Regions from separate parts of the Homo sapiens genome. Here region 2 is linked to region 1. The links are contacts of gene promoters, found by promoter capture Hi-C in blood cells and fetal thymus (Javierre and others, 2016). All regions are on one chromosome and are shown on one strand. The core of a region is centred on a gene start or on the middle of the fragment in contact, and the rest is flanking DNA. Distances in the headings are between cores, read along the strand shown.

The links. Contacts are between HindIII fragments. The CHiCAGO score rates a contact against its expected background, and 5 or more counts as called.
Region 2: a contact is called between a fragment that was not itself captured here and the fragment with the promoter of SOS2 in region 1, in 2 of 17 cell types (non-activated CD4 T cells and M2 macrophages). The highest score is 6.9, in non-activated CD4 T cells.

Annotation. Positions count from the first base shown.
Region 1 is chr14:50,229,408-50,233,929 of GRCh38, forward strand. SOS2 (SOS Ras/Rho guanine nucleotide exchange factor 2) reads right to left here and starts at 2,171. Exons shown (of 23, transcript NM_006939.4): 1 at 1,790-2,171. The coding sequence starts at 1,876. RefSeq lists a silencer at 1,763-2,842 and an enhancer at 2,993-3,082. The HindIII fragment of the contact is 6,352 bases long and covers 1-3,050 here.
Region 2 is chr14:49,701,811-49,706,332 of GRCh38, forward strand. All of the region lies in intron 1 of KLHDC1 (kelch domain containing 1), which reads left to right. Among named protein-coding and RNA genes, the nearest start is that of KLHDC1, 11 kb to the left of the region's middle. The HindIII fragment of the contact is 1,756 bases long and covers 1,375-3,130 here.

The sequences.
Region 1 (4,522 bases), core at 921-3,420:
GTTCCAGGAAAACAAGCACAATATAAATGCAAAGTAATAGCACCAAAGCAATGGACTAGGATTGGATGCTAATCTTGGCTTCTCCAGCCTAACTTGAAAAAAAAAAAAAAAAATCTGGGTCTGGTGCGAGGTGGTTTATGCCTGTAATCCCAACAGTTTGGAAGGCAGAGGTGGGCGGACTGCTTGAGGCCAGAAGTTCAAGACCAGCCTGGGCAACATAGCATAACCCTGTCTCTATTTGAAGAAAAAGAAAACATAAATCTGTTTCTGGACATAAAGGATTATTAGAATCAAAGCTACCTATTGAACAAGTTATGCAACACACACCCAAATACTATTTGCTACCAGAAAGTTATAAATGGGTATATACCTGCGTCACATTGCCAACAATATAGGCCTACCTGATTACTGCACTCACACTTGTCTGTGGTCAAAGGGCTAATTACTATCTAGGCATTTCCCCCTTTGCTTTTAATTCAGGCCAGAGTTCATTTTCACCACTCAGCACACTTTTCATTTCTTTCCCTCTCCTTACAGAATTGGGCTGCACATGGAAGTAAGGTCAATTTAATACTTTAGCACTTGGTATACCAATGGAATAACTGTCTAGCTGCCACTAGTCATTTCTGCCAGGTTCTTTAAAAAGATACGACTTAGTGTTTGCCCTGAGGAAAGCAATACTTCCTTGTAAGAATTATGAAAATAAGGGAAAATCTGCAACTCTCATCGCATGAGGAAAATGTCTTTAACTTTAAAATACACTACTTCCTTTCATTTATAGAAATTTAATGTCTGAGGATATATTTTCCAAGTATAGTCTTTTAAATTAATCTTTATTTTTTCCTTATTTTAGAATGTATTCTTGGTTATTTTGCACAAAAGGCAGAAGAGACTAAGTCTGCATTAACGGCAAAGAAAGAAAGCCCCTGCTCAACAGGCATGACAGCTGATCACGCACCTATTCACAGTCTTTAAATGTCTTGATCTTACAGAAGGATTTATTATAAAAATGATCGTATGGTTACTACCTAAATTCACAGAGGAAGACCGCCACCATCTACAGGAAAGATGCACCCTAGCAATGCACCCAAACATGAAAGACTGATTTGCAGGAGTTGCCCCTTTCTTGTTCCTTAAAATGATTTCAAGTCCTAAATCGCAATTTGGTCGTGAAGACACTGAAGACACTGACCAAATTTTCTAAGGGTAATCTCTTGTAAACAGGTAAGACACCGTTTGCAGGAAGTGGGAAGGCGCTTTAAATTTACCTTGAGAACTGTAAAATGAATAAGAATATTATGACTCACTGACATTTCACACATGTGAAACATCCATATTACAAAAAACCATTGCCTCATAAGTGGATACCCTTGACAAGCAAACCGCCTAGGGGGAACACTCCCAAAGAACTTAATTAAAAGTAATTACCCGGCCTGAAAATGTGCTTTTGTTTTAGAAACTGTCTAAATACCAGCGGGACTTTCTCTTGCCCGATTCCAGCCTGAGGACAACAAATTGGTCAACGGCGGAAGTTGCCTGACGAAATGACTGCAACATGAAATCCAGTTTTATGATCATAACAAAACCTTCCTTCCGGGACCAGGCAAAAAAAAAAAACTTGAGAAACGTCCTTCAGAATGCAACAGGCAATTGTGAGCCCCCCATTGCCAGCCAACGAGAAACGGCTCGGCCCCGGGGACTCGAGCCCTGTGGGAGGGACGACCTGCTCCCCGTTAGAAGCTCGGGGGGCCACGGGCCACCCGCCGGCCGCCCCGCCCCTAGCACTGACCTTCCGCAGGGCCGAGACCAACAGTCCCCGCCATTTCGGACTGTTCTCCTCGCTGAAGAACTCGTAAGGCTGCGGCGCCTGCTGCATGGCCCCGGCGACAGCGCCTCCGCATCGGGGGCAGCCCGCGGGCCGGGCCGGTGGCCTGACAGGCAGGGCGCGGGCCGCCTCGCCTCGCCGGCGGCCGCCGCCTCCCGCCCGGGCCGAGGCTACGGCCGAGGCGGCTCGGAGGCGGCGCCGGCGGGCTGGCGGAGACCCCGGGGTCGGCTTCCTCCGCCGAGGCGGCCCTCGCCTCCCGCAGCGCCCGCAGAGGAAGCGCGGCGACCCGCAAGCCCGGGCGACCCCGGGCGGCGACCTCCTTTCCCGGCGGCGCTGGCCCGCTTCTGGGGCGGCTCCTCCTCCTTTGTCTGGGTTCGCGGCCCGTCAGGGGTACAGCTGGCCCAGCCCCGCCCCGACTCCCGCTACGGCCGCGGCGGGCGGTGAGCAGCGGCGGCGGCGGCGGCGGCTGCTCGTCTCCTCATCGCCTCCTCCCCGCCCTCCCAGCCGACAGCGCCGCCCGGCCCTGCCCACTCGAGTCACCTCCACAGAGCTCTGGGGACCGACCCGGAGTGCGCGTCGGGCGAGCGAGCCTCGCTATGGCGCGCACAGCGCTGGCCGCCGTTGCTGCCCCTTTAGCAGCAGCGCAGAGTGCCTTGGGGTCGCCGCTGAGCCCTGAGTCCCAGCAGCCGAGGCTCGGCCCGCCCCCTCGGCCCGGCGCTCATTATCCCGAATAGCCCAAGAGGCCTAACACGGAGCATGCGCGCCGCGGAGCAGGCACAGGCGCCAGCCCGGCGCGGGGGTGCGGGGCCTGGGGCCCCGGGGGAGTCCGCTTTTCCCGAGACTGTGCTGGGGGCCGCTCCAGACTCTTCAGTTTGACTGCTTTTTACCCATATGCTCCCTCCTCTCGACCTGCTTAAGACAATCCGGACTCGGTGCCACTCTTGTAGCGCTGGAGCCCCAGGACTACCGTCGTGGGAGGCTGCATAGGGACGTGGAGAGAAAGGGGCATTCGGGCTGGACAGGATATTTAACGTATTTGTGCTCTACGTGGCTTGTTTTCATGAGTACCGTATGTTTACACAAAGTAGGTACTATATATAATATATCGTTAGGAGATACAGTAACTATTTCTTAGGGTGATGGTGTGGGGACCGAGAGATGAGGCGTGGAAAGCCCTTAGCCTGGTGGTAGGGTCAGAAGGGGCAGATGACAGTGACGTTGATCAAGCTTGAATTGAAAGGTCCTTCACTTGCACGGGCCCCTGTGCGTTCACAAAATCATATCGTTTTTACAAAACTTTCAAGATATTTTCGAATTGTTTTCTTAATCGTGTCATCCAAATTGTGTAGGCTTCAGGTCCTACAAAACCTGGATCGGCGTCTAGGAAACACTCATTAGCAACCCAGAAAAGATCCTGACAAGCTTTTCAATCCAAAGAGGCATAGGCTCTGGTAACTCATTACCACAAATTTCATCCCACTAAAGAGGCTGAGCACATTACTTTTAACAGGTTGTAAAGAAGATATTTTACTCCCTGTCCCTAGCCACCAGCAGTGAGAAAGGGAAAAGACGAACAGGGTACAAAAAATAAGTCAGTACTACAATTCAGTTCCGGCATCAGTAGCTGAGCAATTATTCTCCCCAAAACATGCACCACTTTTTCATTTGGGCAAAATCAGAATGGCAGAGTTGGAAAATAAGATTATTTTTCTAATCCACTAAAGTATCCACTAAATCAAGAACATCCTCTAATAAATGGCCATATCCATTCACATGTACTTGGGATAAAAGGTGGGATGGTAAAATGCTTGTATTTCTCCCATTAATGTTTCAGTCTGTGAGAGCGAAGACTTTGGCTTATATAGAGGGTCCTTACTTTTCTCTCCTGTTCCCAGACTCCAGCTATAAACTACTGTGATGTCAAACTACTAGACCATGTATGTTCTCTTTACTCATAGGAGAGTAAACTTGTTAGAAATCTCATTCTTGGCTAGGAATATCAGAAGGCTTTTCTGGGCCAAGTCAGGCCTGAAGACATATTTTGTTTAGCTAAGGCTGTATTTAAATTTAATTGTTAACATTTTAAAATCAAGAGGCTTCATATAAAAATGTATATTTTCAGCTTCTCTTGACAAAGATCTGGCAACACTGGGACCTACTGCATTCGTGCAAGAGAGTAATCAGCAGGCACCGGGTAGTGGCTGCCCTCTTTATAAAAATATGCCATCCATTTCCAGTTGGCTATACTTCCCACCTGGCACTCTTCACCCTTTTATGTAACTTGCCTAGTCTCTACAGGCATCTGAGTTCTGATGTCTGGGCTGAGCAAACAGAAATATGATCCACGTGCATGTGGAGGATAGTCCAAGAATGACAGCAGTAAAAAGTTTCCCATTCAGGGCCGGGCGAGGTGGCTCACACCTGCAATTCCAGCACTTTGGGAGGCCGAGGCGGGTGGATCACCTGAGGTCGGGAGTTTGAGACCAGCCTGACCAACATGGAAAAACCCCCTCTCTACTAAAAATAACAAAACTAGCTGGGCAAGGTGGCGCATGCCTGTAATTCTTAGCTACACGGGAGGCTGAGTCAGGAGAATCGCTTGAACACGGAAGGTGGAGGTTGTGGTGAGCTAGATCACGCCATTGCACTCTAGCCTGGGCAACAAGAGCAAGACTCCGTCTCAAAAAAAAAAAAGTT
Region 2 (4,522 bases), core at 1,003-3,502, 530 kb before region 1:
ATCACCTGAGGTCTGGAGTTCAAGACCAGCCTGACCAATATGATGAAACCCCATCTCTACTAAAAATACAAAAATTAGCCGGGCGTGGTGGCTCACGCCTGTAATCCCAGCACTTTGGGAGGCCGAGGCGGGCAGATCACCTGAGGTCAGGAGTGGGAGACCAGCCTCACCAACATGGAGAAACCTCGTCTCTACTAAAAATACAAACGTAACTGGGCATGGTGGCACATGCCTGTAATCCCAGCTACTCGGGAGGCTGAGGCAGGATAATCGCTTGAACCTGGGAGGCGGAGGTTGCAGTGAGCCGAGATCACACCATTGCATTCCAGCCTGGGCAACAAGAGCGAAATTCTGTCTCAAAAAAAAAAAAAAAAAAAGATAACATCCCCATTGAAAAATGAGCAATGGATAAGTGCAATTTACAAAATAAATACAAATATACAAACAAAGGAAACCCAGGTAAAAATTACAATGAGGTTTTTCTTCTCCAATTTGCAAAGATGAGAAAGAATTCTGGCAAAGAGTGTGGAGAAATGAATTACTAGTACACTGGTAATAAGAGTACAAGTTTGTGTAACCTTTTTGAGGAGAAATTTAGCAATGTGTATCAAAAATGTAAGATGTGTTTTCTCTTTAACCTAATAGTTCTACTTTATATATTCATAAATGATCACATTGGTCATCTATGTTATATGGAAGACATTTATCATTCTTTTTAAATGACCAGAATATAAACCACCTTTCTCTATTTGTGGTATTCCCCTAGTGAGTGAATATTGTCAGGGTATTTATTCTAGTTGTCTCCTACTTATCCTCATAAAATATAAGATATGTAACTTGTTCTCTGTTGTATCCTCAATGTCTAGAACTGGTTACAGCTCATAGTAGGTGCCCAATAAAAATACCTGAAAGTCAGGTACTAACTTTTCCTGCCTTACTTGCAGCTAGGTTGCAGGCAAGTGGCTAGGACTCCATTGGTTAGATGAATCTGTGCTAGATTTGGACTTCGGAATAAAGATATAAAAAACCACGACCTCTAGAAGATTCTTAGCCTGCAATACAGTTTAGGAAGATCAAGTTTCCTTGCATAAAAGGCAGCAGTGTGGTGTGCACCAGTGACCACAGACCTGCTCTCTTGGCATGGTTTCACACCTCACTCTTCCTTGCATCGACCAGAGGCTGGTTCTCCAGCCTCCCTGATGATTCTGTGAGCTACTTAATATTCGTTTCTTAAAATTTTATTTACTTAATTTTTGAATTTGAAATATATATACAATAGAATGTATAAAATAAGTATTATTTAAATATAAACAACTGTTTACTTTCCAGATTAAGAAATAAACAATACCTTTATTGTTTATTATGCAGGATAAAAGCTTCCTTTTATCCTGCATTGATTACATTGCTCCCACTACCCCCACTCATACAGGTTACCACTATCTTAAATTTCTTTTCTCTATAATTTTACTTCACATACATCTCTAAACAATATATTATTTGGTTTTGAATCATAGCATATGTTTTCTTTCATGAATTTTTTTTTTTTTTTGAGACAGAGTTTCGCTCCTGTTGCCTAGGCTGGATTGCAGTGACATGATCTTAGCTCACTGCAACCTCCGCCTCCTGGGTTCAAGTGATCCTCCTGCCTCAGCCTCCCAAGTAGCTGGGATTACAGGTGCCCGCCACCACACCCAGCTAATTTTTGTATTTGTAGTAGAAACGGGGTTTCACCATGATGGCCAGGTTGATCTTGGACTCCTCACCTTAGGTGATCCACCCACCTCAGCCTCCCAAAGTGCTGGGATTACAGGTGTGAGCTCAGCCTCTTCCATGAATTCTTTTAGTTTTCAGATTCATACATTGCTTATAGTCAACTGGTGTGTGCTTGTATGGCTGTACCTGTTGTTGTTTGGCATCTATTCTGATTGGTCAATGCCTGTGCTGCCCAGTTGTTAAATAATTTGAAAATCATCATCTCTAGATCCATTCATTTGATGTATATCCTGTATAACATTCTACTCTATGAGTTTACTGCAATTTATCCATTCCATTATTGGTGAATATTTGAATGTTTCTAATTTTTTGCTATTGTAAGCATTCTTATAACATGCTTCCTATTGTATATTCACAAGGGCATGTACATTCCCTAGGGAATCTACCAATGAATGAAATGTTGGATCACTTGATATGCACATCTCCAAAATTATTTGGAAATGTCAGACTGTTACCAAAATATTTGTATCAATTTACACTCCCACCAGCCATTTCCTTGCCCCATATCCTTGGCAACACATTTGGTACCATCTGGCCTTACGTTTTTGCCGTTCCAGTGAGTGTGACATGATAGTTCATTGTGGTTTTTGTTTTCATTTCCCTTGGTTACTGATAAAATTGAGCGTCTAACTTTATGGACTATTTGTGTCTTTTGTAAAAATGCTGGCTCATGTCTTTTGCTCATTTTTCTGTTGGATTATTTGCTTTTTTTAACTAATTTATACAAGTTTTAAAATACAAAATTGTGTGAGTTGAATATGTCTTCAATTTATAGCTTGTCTTTTTATTTTTTTTCCTTTTCTGTTTTTTTTTTTTTTTTTTTTTTTTGAGACAGAGTCTCGCTTTGTCGCCCCGGCTGGAGTGCAGTGGCGCAATCTGGGGTCACTGCAACCTCTGCCTCCCAGGCTCAAGCAATTCTCGTGCCTCAGCCTCCTGAGTAGCTGGGATTACAGGCACCCGCCACCATGCCCAGCTAATTTTTTGTATTTTTAGTAGAGGCCAGAGTTTCACCATGTTGGCTGGGCTGGCCTTGAACTCCTGACCTCAGGTGATCTGCCCACCTCGGCCTCCCAAAGTGCTGGGATTACAAGCATGAGCCACTGTGCCTGGCCTTGTCAAACATATTCTAACCATTCCTAGAAACAGGAAGAAAAGGAGTCAAGGGAGAATTCTTTTTTTTGAAAGGTGAGATGAGACATGTTTGTATATTAATAGGAATAATCCAGTAGAGAAGGAAAACTTGGACTGGGCGCAGTGGCTCACTCAATCAATAAATATTTTATTTGTCTTTTATGTGTGAGGCACTGTAGTAGGCTCTGGGAGCGTAACAAGATAGACAAGATCCCTGTACTCATGAAGCTTACAGTTTAGCAGTATTGGTGGTGGTGAGGGTGGGTGTGATACAAAGAACTTCAAAGGGAAAGTACAGGACTATGAGGGCCTCTAATAGGGGACCTTAATACTTTAAGCTATTTTAGAGAATAGGTTAGAGAAGTACATTTAAGCTGATTCCCAAAAAAGGAGGAGTTAGGCAAACTCTGAAAGAGTACTATAAGAGAGAAAAGAGAATAGATGAATGGTCCTATCATAGCAAGGAACTAGGAGATGTTTAAGTACTGAAGGCGTACTGTGTGTGAAAGGCAACTTGAAGTTTCGAGGGATAGCAGCTACCATATAATACAGAATCATAAACATTTTAGACTATGCTAAAAGCAATAGGGAGCCATTGAAAGGACTTAAACAGAGTAATGACAATTCACTTTCATAATATTTCTTTCTTTCTTTTTTTTTTTTTTTTTTTTTGAGATGGAGTCTTGCTCTGTCACCCAGGCTGGAGTACAGTGGCATGATCTCAGGTTACTGCAACCTCCGCCTCCCAGGTTCAAGCAATTCTCCTGTCTCAGCCTCCTGAATAGCTAAGACTATAGGCGCCCGCCACCACACCTGGCTAATTTTTTTGTATTTTTAGTAGAGACAGGGTTTCACCATATTGGCCAGGCTGCTCTCGAACTCCTGACCTTGTGATCTGTTCGCCTCAGCCTCCCAAAGTGCTAGGATTACAGGTGTGAGCCACTGTGCCCAGCCTATAATATTTCTTTTGTAAAGGAGTACACATGAGGCTACTGGAACCTAATGCCATTAAACCTTAGACTCATACAGTAGCTCCCCTTCTTATAATTATTTGTTTACTTAGCCATTTAATATGGATTCCTCAGTCAGACATGAGTGTAAGTTTATGTTTTTTCACTGATTGAAAAATTTTTTTAATTTTAATTTTTGTGGGTACATAGTAGGTGTATATATTTATGGGATGCATGAGATATTTTGATACAGGCATGCAATGCATAATAGTCACATCATATAAAATGGGGTATCTGTTCCCTCAAGTATTTATCCTTTGTGTTACAGACAATCCAATTATATTCTTTTATTTTGAAATGTACAATTATTATTGACTATAGTCACCCTATTGTGCGATCAAATACTAGGTCTTATTCTTTCTAACTATTTTTTGGTACCCATTAGCCATCCCTACCCACCCACTCCCACCTCCCACTAACCTTACCAGCTTCTGGTAACCATCCTTCTGCTTTCTCTCTCCATGAGGTCAATTGTTTTGATTTTTAGATCTCATGTAAGAACATGTGATGTTTGTCTTTTTGTGTCTGGCTTACTTCATTTAGCTAATGACCTCTAGTTCCATCCATGTTATTGTAAATAACAGGATCTCATTCTTTTTTATGGCTGA